4 separate regions of the Homo sapiens genome follow, and regions 1, 2 and 4 are each linked to region 3. Evidence: promoter capture Hi-C in 16 types of primary human blood cells and fetal thymus (Javierre and others, 2016). All regions are on one chromosome and are shown on one strand. The core of a region is centred on a gene start or on the middle of the fragment in contact, and the rest is flanking DNA. Distances in the headings are between cores, read along the strand shown. Region 1 overlaps TBC1D5 (TBC1 domain family member 5). Region 2 has its middle 150 kb from the start of ZNF385D-AS2. Region 3 holds the start of KAT2B (lysine acetyltransferase 2B). Region 4 has its middle 170 kb from the start of ZNF385D-AS2.

What was found. Contacts are between HindIII fragments. The CHiCAGO score rates a contact against its expected background, and 5 or more counts as called.
Region 1: a fragment that was not itself captured here is called in contact with the fragment with the promoter of KAT2B in region 3 in 1 of 17 cell types (non-activated CD4 T cells); the score reaches 5.2 in non-activated CD4 T cells.
Region 2: a contact is called between a fragment that was not itself captured here and the fragment with the promoter of KAT2B in region 3, in 1 of 17 cell types (M2 macrophages). The highest score is 5.3, in M2 macrophages.
Region 4: a fragment that was not itself captured here is called in contact with the fragment with the promoter of KAT2B in region 3 in 2 of 17 cell types (M1 macrophages and M0 macrophages); the score reaches 5.7 in M1 macrophages.

What each region holds. Positions count from the first base shown.
Region 1 is chr3:17,730,314-17,733,218 of GRCh38, reverse strand. All of the region lies in intron 1 of TBC1D5 (TBC1 domain family member 5), which reads left to right. Among named protein-coding and RNA genes, the nearest start is that of TBC1D5, 11 kb to the left of the region's middle. The HindIII fragment of the contact is 1,320 bases long and covers 866-2,185 here.
Region 2 is chr3:22,105,700-22,108,798 of GRCh38, reverse strand. It overlaps a transcript of ZNF385D not described here. Among named protein-coding and RNA genes, the nearest start is that of ZNF385D-AS2, 150 kb to the right of the region's middle. The HindIII fragment of the contact is 4,489 bases long and covers 1-3,099 here.
Region 3 is chr3:20,038,721-20,041,835 of GRCh38, reverse strand. KAT2B (lysine acetyltransferase 2B) reads right to left here and starts at 1,390. Exons shown (of 18, transcript NM_003884.5): 1 at 1,056-1,390. The coding sequence starts at 1,358. RefSeq lists enhancers at 1-78, 795-1,765 and silencers at 929-988, 1,189-1,318, 1,489-2,128. The HindIII fragment of the contact is 5,734 bases long and covers 1-3,115 here.
Region 4 is chr3:22,122,017-22,125,141 of GRCh38, reverse strand. It overlaps a transcript of ZNF385D not described here. Among named protein-coding and RNA genes, the nearest start is that of ZNF385D-AS2, 170 kb to the right of the region's middle. The HindIII fragment of the contact is 2,052 bases long and covers 236-2,287 here.

The DNA.
Region 1 (2,905 bases), core at 276-2,775, 2.3 Mb after region 3:
GTGAAGATAGGACAGAACGGGAGAGGTAGGAATGGGGAAGCACCTAGTATGAACTCTTCTTTCTCTGGCCCCCTTTCTGCTTCATGATTCTCTCTCTGGACTCCATTGATTCTGCCCTCTTACTGATTTTCTGGCTTCCTGTTTATTTTCTAGATATACCTTGTCTCCTTTCTTTCAGAAAATTGCTCCTTACCTCCTTTCTACTTTGATCAGGAGTACTATATGCTTTCTACCAGTATGGGAAGTGGTCCTGATCAGTTTCCCTAATGTCCCCATCTTGTCACAAAACTACTACAAAATTTCATGATCAGTGGCAATCATGTATTCCACTTTGCAAAGGGTGTGGCAAAGTATTGATTAAAGTTGAGTGTCCTTATAACATGAAACTACTGATATGGAAGAATTAATGAAAGGAGAGACAGATACTTCATAAAGACAAACGGTCAGAGAATTATAGATATATATTTAAATTTTATTTATTTATTTATTTATTTATTTTTTTGAGACGGAGCCTCGCTCTGTCACCCAGGCTGGAGTGCAGTGGTGTAATCTTACTGCAACCTCCCATTCTTCTGTCTCAGCCTCCTGGGTAGCTGGGATTACAGGCGAATGCTACCAGGCCTGGCAAATTTTTGTATTTTTAGTAGAGTTGGGGTTTTGCCATCTCTTCTGGTGGCCATCTCTATTGGTCAGGCTGTTCTTGAACTCCCGACCTCAGGTGATCCATCCGCCTTGGCCTCCCAAAGTGCTGAGATTACAGGCGTGAGCCACCGTGCCCAGCCAGAAAATTATAGAATAGTAACTGAGTGGTTGAATGTTACAAAGTAGATAGTGTGGGAGTAGTGTCACCAAGATGGAAAAAGCTTCTGAAGAGTCTTTTTTTGTTTGTTTTTTGTTTTTTGAGATGGAGTCTCGCTCTGTTGCCCAGGCTGGAGTGCAGTGGTGTGACCTTAACTCACTGCAATCTCTGCCTCATAGGTTCAGGGGCTTCTCCTGCCTCAGCCTCCTGGGTAGCTGGGATTACAGGCGCCCACCACCATGCCCAGCTAATTTTTGTATTTTTAGTAGAGATGGGGTTTCACCACATTGGCCAGGCTGGTTTCTAACTCCTGACCTCAAGTGATCTGCCTGCCTCGGCCTCCCAAAGTGCTGGGATTACAGGTGTGAACCACTAGGCCTGGCCCGAAGAGTCTGTTATCTTAGACCTCCAACCTGATTTCCTCCCTGAACTTTCAGATCTGTGTATCTGATTGCCTACTGGATAACTCCACTTCTTAATGGCTCACAGGAAACTCAGTTTAGTAAGTCTGCAACAGAATTTACCTTCTTCTCTTACAAAAAATCTTTACAAGTGTGTGTTTTTTAATTAAATTAATTTTTTTTTTAATCTCAGCACTACCATCTCCCTAGTTATTCAAGCCAGAAACGTGGCAGACACATTTTACTCCATTCTCTACATCCTCATGTACAGGCATCAAACTCAACCCTGTGGATTTGAACCCATTGTGTCTTCATCCCTACTATGTCTTCTCTAGTTCAGGTCCCCATCATCTCTTGCCTTTGTTTCTGTAAGGTCTTCTGACTGGTGTCCCCGCAGCCAGGTAGGTAATCTTTTTAAGCTCTCACGATTCTCTTATTCTGTGGCTTAAAACCTGATATTCTCCATTGCCTATTTCCAGTCTCATGACACCCTCTTTTTTTTTTTTTTTTTTTTGAGACAGAGTCTTGCTTTGTCGCCGGGCTGGAGTGCAGTGGCACGATCTCAGCTCACTGCAACCTCCGCCTCCCGGGTTCAAGCAATTCTCCTGCCTCAGCCTCCTGAGTAGAGTAGCTGGGACTATAGGCGTGTGCCACCATGCCCAGCAAATTTTTGTATTTTTATTAGAGATGGGGTTTCACCATGTTGGCGAGGATGGTCTCAATCTCTTGACCTCGTGATCCGCCCGCCTCGGCCTCCCAAAGTGCTGGGATTACAGGCGTGAGTCACTGCACCCAGCCTCATGACCCCCTCTTCTGCCTCCCTTATATTATGTGATTTTGTAAAAAAGTAAAAAATACTGAAATTCTTTGATTTTGGAACTGTTCATGTTTTTGCTTGCCTTGGGCACAGAGTAGTTTTTCTGTCTCTTCATCTTACTCACTTTTGTAAGGTCTTAGCTTAAATGCCACTCTGTTCCAGGAAGCTTCTTTATACTACCAAGTCTGTGTTGTGCTCTTCCTGTTTGGCCAAATACTCTATACTATAATATTTATGTATTACTCATAATACATAAATATTATGAATTATGAATTATAATATTTATTGTGAATTATAATTACCTTTTTACTCATTAGTCTATGTCATGCTTTTGACTGCTCTGTGAGTGCCAGGGCCACGTATAACATCTTTACTTTAATACTTCTGGTGGCGTGCTTGTTAAAAATAGATGTCCAATACCAGGTACTGTTCTATGTGTTAAAAATACAGCAGTAAATAAGAGGCTGTTCTGGTTGTTAACTGCCGTGTGACAAATGGCTTCAAAACTTTGCAGCTTAAAACAACAGTAATATTTATTTACTCATGATTTTATGATTTTTGTAGGACTCATTGAGGGTAGTTTATCTTCGTTTCATCTGGTGTCAGCTCAGTGGGGGTTAGATTATCTACTTCCAAATGGCTCACTTACATAGCTGGCAGTTTATGCTGGCTGCTGTCCAGGAGCTCAGCTAGGGCTATTTACTAGAGGTACTAAATGAGGCCTTTTCCTGTGGCCTGGCCATGACTGGTAGTTTCTAAGAAGGAGTGCTCTAAGAACAAGCATTTCAAGAGGCAAAAAGTGGAAAAACCTAGTCCCCTTAAAGGCTAGGCTAGGAACTGATAGAGCATTACTTCTGCTGTATTTTGTTGGCTAAGAAGACAGAGTCA
Region 2 (3,099 bases), core at 367-2,866, 2.1 Mb before region 3:
TCAAGTGATCCACCCATCTCAGCCTCCCAGAGTGCTGGGATTGCAGGCATGAGCCACTGCACCTAGCCTGCTACATGTTTTTTATATTCATCTTATTTAGACTTTATAACTTGGTGAAGTAATTATAAACTACGTTCACTTCACAGATGAGAGAATTGGCCTTAGAGAGGTTAAGTAACTTTTCTAAGGCCCCTCTCTTAGTCAGTGGCAAAGTTTGAATTTGAACTGATTTATCCAGATGTAAAATCCTTAGTTCCACATGCATTGCACTCATTTGCCAGTCATTTCATGAAATGGCCAAGATTAATAATGTGTGCACTCATTCAAATCTTTTAATCCCTGTCATCAGGAAGCTATAGTTGCATTTCATACCCTTACTTCTTTCCTCTTAAGGAAGTTTTGTGTTTTGACAGATCATGCAAAAAAAAAACAAAAAAAACCTTTCATTATATGTATAGTTTCTGTGTTAATAAACACATCTTCCAAGAAAATCGAACACTCGACAGATGTTCTGACCAAAATTGTGGATTAAAATGAGTAAGAAGTTGCTACTGTAAATAAAGCAAAGTAAAACATTGTGTCCTCTATATATGTGTGTATGTATGCAGACATACAAATATTTCAGTTTATTCTGTGTCTTAGTTCACTTTATGCTGCTGTAACAGAATGCCTGACACTGTGTAATTTGTAAAGAATAGACATTTATTTCTCACAGTTCTGGAGGTTTGGGGGTGTAAGATCAATACACTGACATCTAGTAAGGGCGTTCTTTCTGCATCGTCACATGGTATAAGGCAGAAGGGCAGGAGATAGCCAAAAGCTGCTTGAAGCCTCTTTATTAGGGCCTTAATCACTTTCATGAGGGAGGAGTCCTCACGGCCTAATCACCTATTATGGGCACCCCATTATAATACCATCACATTGACAACACCTGAATTTTGAAGCAGACACATTCAAACCATGCCATTCCATATATAAATATAGACATAAACAAGCACTATTAATACCACACTACATATGGATGTAAAATTTACCTGTAGAGAAATATATACATACAGTTGACATCATACAGCGCATGCACAGAAAAAAGACTAGAAGGAAATATATCAACAATTGGCAAACAGCTTTTGATAGGATTATTTAATATTTTAATGCATATTTTTGTATATTTTCCTGCAGTAAGCATATATTGTTTCTATACTTTAAATAAAATTATGTAATTTGTAGTCACTAAAGAAGTCATCTCAGGTTAGGTTCCTACTTGCATATAAAGTCTTCAGTTATTACCCTATTTTATATCAGAAAATCTAGAGTTTTTTAAGATTAGTAGTTTTTAAAATATATTTCCATGTATAAACTTTGCTTTTTTCCCCATGTATCAATGATTTTACAGTCCTGACTCTCAGAAAAAAATCTAGAAAATTTAACATAATTTTCTGACAAGAGGAAAATAGCCTTTTAAAAACTAATATTCCAGGCTTGGTGCGGTGGCTCGTGCCTGTAATCCCAGCACTTTGGGAGGCCAAGGCAGGCAAATCACCTGAGGTCGGGAGTTCGAGACCAGCCTGAACAACATGGAGAAACCCTGTCTCTATTAAGAATAAAAAATTAGCTAGGTGTGGTGGCACATGCCTGTAATCCCAGCTACTCCGGGGCTGAGGCAGGAGAATCGCTTGAATCCAAGAGGTGGAGGTTGTGGTGAACCAAGATCACTCCATTGCACTCCAGCCTGGGCAACAAGAGCAAAACTCTGTCTAAAAAAAAAAAAAAAACTCTCATTCCAAAGTTTTTGCATAAATAGATAAGTTGGCTAAATCAGTTATGCCTGCCAGGAGCTCATGTCAGAGAGATGTTTCAGAGAGAGCAGCAACTAACCATAACTAGCAAGAGTAGAGGAAGAGTTAGGTGACCACTCTTATGAAGAATGAGTGCCCAAATCACAAGTTAAGGGATCGTGGTGGTTGATAGTCTAACCTATGCTGATACTGATCCAAGATTGTCAGGCTTCTCCGCATTAGGTAGAAGATCAAGTTACAGATCCAGTTGCGTCACATGAGGCAATTTGTAGGGATTCTGGAAGACAGGTTCAACTCCAAGGGTTACAACCAACAAGTAGTAGGTAAGAGGTCAGGCCTTCAGCCAACTGGCCTCAGGTTGACGGCTTGGCTTTCTGGAGCTGGTATTAAACCAAGGGGGCAGGGACTGGTGAGAGAGAGACTCAAGCTGACTAATAAGGGCATCAAATCAGATGCCCAGGAGCTAAAGTCATATCTGGAAAGAAGACAGCAAACCTTTTCCAGTAACTCACTGAAATTTAAGGAAAAAGGTCCTAAAAGGCTGCCCAGTCAGGTACTCTGTATTGTATGAGACAGAGATTGGAAAATGTAAGATTTTTTTGTCCTTTCAGCTGGACCTAGGAGAACAGTGACCAAAGGGCAGATGGTATCTCAGTTTCATCATCTTTCAAATGTAAGCAGTAATTGTCCTTACTTCATCCAAGTGTTGTGTAGAATAGATACTATGTGTTAAGGGCATAGGTTTGTTACTGGGAAAAACCTGATTATGTCGATGACCAGTTTCCTTACAACCTAATATTTATGGCAGTGATTTTCAACTCAGGTAGCAAGTGAGAACATCCCATGGAGATTTTTGGAGCCACAAATACCTGGGCTCTGCTTTAGTCCTATCAAATCAGAATTTCTCTTGCTGAAGTCAGAGTTTCAGAGTCCTAGGGGTGATTTATCCTATCAATAATGACTAAGCATATGCTAGGGATACTACTGTATTTACTAAAACTTATTTATGATTAAAGTAATATGAAAGTTATTTATGATTACTCAAAATACAATAGTAACAGATGTGTACTATTAAATTAGATAAATTCACAGATTTAAAAATAACTACTATATTAATTGGTGATTAATTTTATATGTCAAAATGCCTAGGTCCCAGGATGCCCAGCCAGTTAAACATTATTTTGTCTGTGAGAGTGTTTCTCAAAAACAGCACCTTTGGAATTGGACTGAGTAAAGCAGATGGCCCTCCCCAATGTTGGTAGGCATCACCCAATCATTGAGGACCTTAATAGAACAAAAAGGT
Region 3 (3,115 bases), core at 141-2,640:
CAGCTTGGTTGTGACAATCGGGAATCTGGAATCTGGGAACTTGACCCTCTTTACAGCAGGCAGGAAGAATACAGGGAGGTGTGAGTGTGTGTGAGTGTGTCTCTTCCCTGCCTCAGCCACAGGCCGCAGGAGCTGACAAGGCCAAGTCCCCGCCCCCCTCAGCTGTCACCCTGTCAAAACAAAGCCGCTGCTGACAGCGCAGGGCCAGCCTGCCCCGCGGCCTCGGGCAATCCTCCCACCTCGGGAACACAGCCTCCACATCTGGATCTGCAGCTGGAGGTGACAGGGTGCCTAAACTGGCATGGAGAGTGGGTAGCAAGAAATGGGTGTCCTCAAACTGAGCAGTAGCGCCCGCCGCGCTGGGCTGTCACTTTGCCAAATCCTGTTTACACCTCGAGCAGCTGGGACAGCGTTTTAACTAAACAAGTAATAATACAATAATGACAGGGCTGTCACCGCGCGCGGCAGTGCCTCCGCCCCCAGCCGAGGGCGCCAGGCACCACAAGACCCTCGCCTCGGACTCTGCCCACCTTCCCACCCCGCGCTTTCCTCCCCTTCGCTTTCCCAAAGCGCCAGGAGTCCGGGAGTCTTCTCCACCCCCACTCCTTGCACCCAGTTCCTCCCAGTGGGACACAGGAAGGGATCGATTGCAGAAGGGACCACTCAGTCCCCCAAAAGATTTTTCCTTGCCCCTGGGTCACCCGCCACATGGAGAGCACCGCTCCACTCCCGGGAAAGTGACTCCAGCGAGCTCCTACAGAGCAACAAAACCCCAAGGTAGCCCGGGAGCTCGGATGCCGAAGCTACTCCTTTCAAGCGGAAGGAATGAAGGGCTCTCCGTCTTAGTGATCCCCCTTCTTCAAACCCAGCAGGACTCTTATCCAAGAAGAAGCTAATTGGGCGCGGGCGACAAGAGCACTTCCGCGGTGCAGCGGCCCCAGGCGGGAGGCGAGAGGCAGGAGGCGGGAGGCGGAGGTGGAAGCGGGAGGGGGAGGGGGGTCCCGCGGGCTGGGCCCCTAGCACCCATCCGCGGTCCGAGAGCGGCGAGCGCGTACCTTGCAGGCGGAGTACACTCCGAGTTTCTCCAGTTTCTTGGCCCGCGGAGCGGAGCGTAGTTGCGCTTTCTTCACGGCGATTCGGGCCGAGCCACCGCCTCCCGGTCCTTCGGCCGTGCCCGCTGCAGCCACTGCCGTCGCCGGACCGCAGGCGCCCGAGCCCCCGGCGGCAGCGGCGCAGGGGGAGCCCTGCGGGGGCGCGGGCGGAAGCGCCGCAGGCTGCGGGGGCAGCGCCCCGGGCCCGGCCCCTGCCCCGGCTCCTGCCCCGCAGCCGCCCGGCCCGGCCCCGCCAGCCTCGGACATGCCGCCCCGGAGCACGGCAGGAGGCGCCGAGTGTCAGGCGCCGCCGCCGCCGCCAGGGTCTCCCTCTCGGGCTCTGGTAGTCGGGAGAGCGAGACCCTCCCCCCACGCCCTCCCGCCCCCTTCGCCCACCCCCCTCCCCGCCCCCGCCCTCCCCCTAGCGCGCCGCTCGCCCGGCTCGCTCTGGCCGGGCCCCGCGCGCTGATGGTGGTGGCGGCGGCGGCAGCGGCGGCAGCTGCTCCCCCAGGAGGGAGGGGACTAGCGGCTCCGCTGCCGCTGCCGCCGCCGCCACAGCACACGCCCTCCCTTGGTTCTCCTGCCCGGGACTCTGCTCCGCGCCCTGGCTGCGGACATGTTCCTCGGGACTGCGGACTAGGTGTGCGTGCCGGCGGCTGCCAGCCTCACGGTGTCTGCCAGCGCTGGGAGGCCCCCCACGGCCTCTTTTCCGCTGCCCGCGGGGTTTGCACCCCCCACCCCAGTGCTTCGACACCTACCGCTCGCCCGCCAGGGGGCGAGGCCAATCCCTGGGTGTGGGTGAGGGTGGGGACGAGGGTGGGGGTAGGGGCCTGGAGCCCAGGCACCTGCTGGCCACCTCCCCCCTCCGCGGCCCCCCATCCGACCCCCGCACGCCTGCACCAGTGGGAGGGGGCAGCCTCTCAATCATTTGTCCTTTCACTCTCTTCCACCCTGTCTCTGACAGAGAGACAACTTCCTCCACCCTAGCGGGAGCCAGAGGAAAAAAAATATATTTTTGAAAAGTACCCGTCCATGCTAATCTTTTTCTTTGTTGCTAATTCACCAAAATAAAGACGTGATGTTCTCCCTTTCTCTTTTTAAATACTTTCTGTCAAACTATTTTTTAATATAATTAACACTTTCTTCCCATAGCAATTTCTGGGTCAAATCTGCCGGAGGAGGGGAAAAAAACTTACTATTCTCTGTAATTTTTGTTTGAAAGTGCTGGTTGCTAAAAGAAAGATTGTCTAAAAAGCATTGTCAAAAACTATGCAGTGGAAAAAGTTTGAATACAAAAAGTTTGTTAACAGGATTCGTTTCTGGGTGGTGGTTCTATAACGTTACGTAGTTTTCAAAATTGTGCCACCGCGTGCGTATTAACCAGGAAAAAGATATAAGCATAATTCAAAAGAATAAATATCGATTTTGGCCTCAAACTTTAAAAAGAAAAAAAAAACCCTCAACTCAGTGTTTCCAACTCTTGTTGAAAACTGTTGTTTTCACTGTTGATGACTGTGGAGCATACAAGTCAGTGCTGCGTTTGAAAGTGGTGTACCGTTGATCGCCTTCTTAAGCAGGTTTTAAAAGCCCAGGGCTTTTTCTCAGGACCCTTCAGAAGTGCCCTACTTTTTGTTATATGCAATGTGGGTCATAATGTGCTTATTATCAGATTTTATGCATGCTGTATAGCTCTCAGGCCAGACGCTTTAAGGGGTGTGCTTTTCGTGGGAAACATTCCCCTTCTTCTTTTTCCAGATTCTCTGTGTTATTTTGACTTGTAATGCAGGTTAATATATAAACATTGGGAGGTGGGGGAGTTTGTAGATCTAAACAGTGATATTAGCTTAGACAGGGCAAAAGGCAATATTCTCTCCCAACTTGAGTCCAGTCTTGAGGGGATGAAATGGCAGATTCTTATCAGGTTCCATTCAGGACAATTAATTTCAGTGCTTCCTTTCTTAGCTTGACGTGCTTCACGTTACCAGTGTTACTCTCTCCTGGCTCTGCTGAGATGTTTCGCAGAT
Region 4 (3,125 bases), core at 12-2,511, 2.1 Mb before region 3:
GAACATATGTATGCAAAAGAATGGGACTAGCTGCTATCTTTTTTCCCATACAGAATAAAATTAAAGTCGATTATAGGCTTAAATCTAAGATCTCAAACTATGAAACTGCTAAAATAAAACCTTGGGGAAACTTTCCAGGATGTTGGTCTGGGAAAATATTTCTTGAATAATACCCCACAAGCACAGGCAACCAAACCAAAATTGGACAAATGGGGTCACATCAAATTAAAAAGCTTCTATGCAGCCAAGGAAACAGTCAACAAAGTGAAGAAACAACGCACAGTATGGGAAACAATTATTTGCAAACTATCCATCTGACAAGAAACTAATAACCAGATATATAAGGAGCTCAAACAACTCTATAGGATAAAATATATTTATCCAATTAAAAGTGGACAGAAGATCTGAATAGACAATTCGCAAAAAAGACATACAAATAGCAAACAAATATATGAAAATATGATCAGCATCATTGATCAGAGAAATGCAAATCCAAACTACAGCGATATATTACCTCACCCTATTTAAAATGCTTTTATCCAAAAGATGAGCAATAATGAATTCTGGCGAGAATGTGGAGACAGGAATCCTCATACACTGTGGGAATATAAATTAGTACAGCCACTATGGAGAAAAGTATAGAGGTCCACAAAAAACTAAAAATAGAACTACTGTGTGATCCAGCAATACCACTGCTAAGTATGTATACCCTAAAAAGGAAATCAGTATATCAAAGAGATATCTGCACTCCCATGATTTTTGCAGCAGTATTTATAATAGCTATGAATTGGAATCAACCTAAGTGTCCATCAACAGATGAATGGATAATGAAAATGCGGTACTTATACACAATGAAGTACTATTCAGCCATTACAAAGAATGAGATCATGTCATTTGCAACAGCATGGATGAAGCTGAAGGACATAATAAATGAAATAATCCAGACACAGAAAAACATGACATATTCTCACTTGTGGGAGCTAAAAATTAATACAGTTGAACTCGGGGAGATAGAGAGTAGAATAACGGTTACCAGAAGCTGAGAATTGTAGGGGTGAGGGAGAATGGGAATGGTTAATGCACACAAAAATAGTTAGATAGAATGAATAAGACCTAGCAGTTGCTTGCACAACAGGATGAGTTCAGTCAGCAATATATATATATATATATATATATATAGAGAGAGAGAGAGAGAGAGAGAGAGAGAGAGAGAGAGAGATGGAGTCTAGCTCTAGTTTTTGTTTTGTTTTTGTTTGGTTTGGTTTGGTTTGGTTTTTCTGAGACAGAATTTTGCTCTTGTTGCCCAGGCTGGAGTGCAGTGGTGCAATCTCAGTTCCCTGCAACCTCCGCCTCTTGGGTTCAAGCAATTCTCCCTGCCTCGGCCTCCCGAGTAGCTGAGATTACAGGTGCCCACCACCACACCCAGCTAATTTTTGTACTTTTTAGTAGAGATGGGGTTTCACTATGTTGGCCAGGCTGGTCTTGAATGCCTGACCTCAGGTAATCCACCTACTTTGGCCTCCCATAGTGTTGGGATTAAAGGCGTCAGCCACCGCGCCCGGCCCAGTCAGCAATAATTTTTTGTTGTACATTTTATATACATTTTAGAATAGCTGAGGGAGTACAATTGGAAAGTTTGTAACAAAGAAATGATAAATGCTTGAGGTAATGCATACCCCATTTACCGTGGTGTGATTACACATTTTATGCTTGTATCAAAATATTTTATAAATATATACACTTACCTCATCAATATATACACCAAAATATCCCGTAAATATATACATCTACCATGTACCCATAAAGATTTTAAAAACTAATTATATAAATAAATATCTCAAATATAACTTGTGTAAAACTGTACTCTTGAACTTCTCACTTTAAGATCTACTCCTCCTACCTTCTTGGTAATTCAGTCTCCCCCGCTTCTCCCCTCCACTTTTTCTCTTTTCTCTTCTCTTCTCTTCCATCCTGTCTCATCCCATTGCATCTCATCTTATGCTATTCTAATCACTCCCAACAATCTATCAACTCATCATCCAGAGTGTTTCTATCAGAACAGATGTCAGATGCTATTCTTCTTTTGCTCAAAGGAAAGAATGTCATGGTTGTCCTCCATGACAACCCATTGCATTTGGAATAAAAGTAGTCTTTAAAGTTGCCTCCAAAGCCCTATATGATCTTATCTCCTAATACTTTTCTTAAATCATTTCTTGCTCCTTTTCCAGTCACTTATGGCGTTCACCCATACTGCTTTACTTCATCTTTTGCCAATGCAAAGGAAGCTTGATTTCTACATCAGGGCCTTTGCATTTGATGTTGCCTCTGTTTAAAGTATTTTCAGAAAACTGCATGCATGACTCATTTCTTCACCCCCTTTAGCATGTGACTCGAATGTCACCGTCTCAGTAGGCCTTTCTTGGTACTTTCCATATCCAAATTGTTACCTCCCCCATATATATACTCTCTGTTCTTCTTTCTTCCATAGAACTTATTATTCAAGAAACCCTATATGACACTTATTATCTTATTTTTTTCTCTTTCTGTTTTTGAAATTAAGCTCTACAAATGCAGAGAGCTTTGTCACTTTTCTTTATGGCTGTGTCATCAGCACCTAGAAAAGATTCTGACATATATTTAGTGCTCAATATTTTTAGTATGATTAGAGTCAATACATACATTTTTCATAGTAGACAATATTTCATTTGATATACTTACTATAATTTTATGTTTGAGAAAATACTATTATTGGGAAATGAGATCCACAACTAGTTACTTCTATAAAATCCAGAATCAATTACAGTGGAAAAAAAACAATTTTTTAGGGTAAAAATGGAAACCCTTTGATGACTTCAGCCGAATGCAGGTCCTGATGCTTGTCACTTGCAAGCTTCAATTAGTAAGAGCAAGTTCTGGTAGAAAGAAGGTAAACTTATTAACTAAAACTAGTAAAGGGGAAGCAGTCAGATTTTTACCCAAGGTAACAGCTTTGATTTTGAGGGGGAAGGAAGGGGTTTAAAAAAAGAAAACTTGATAAAGAAGTCAGGCAAAAATTGGGCTGAGACGATATTTGTGCATGTTGCTCTAGTGGCTATCAGTCCACCTGACCTTGGGCTGGTGTCATC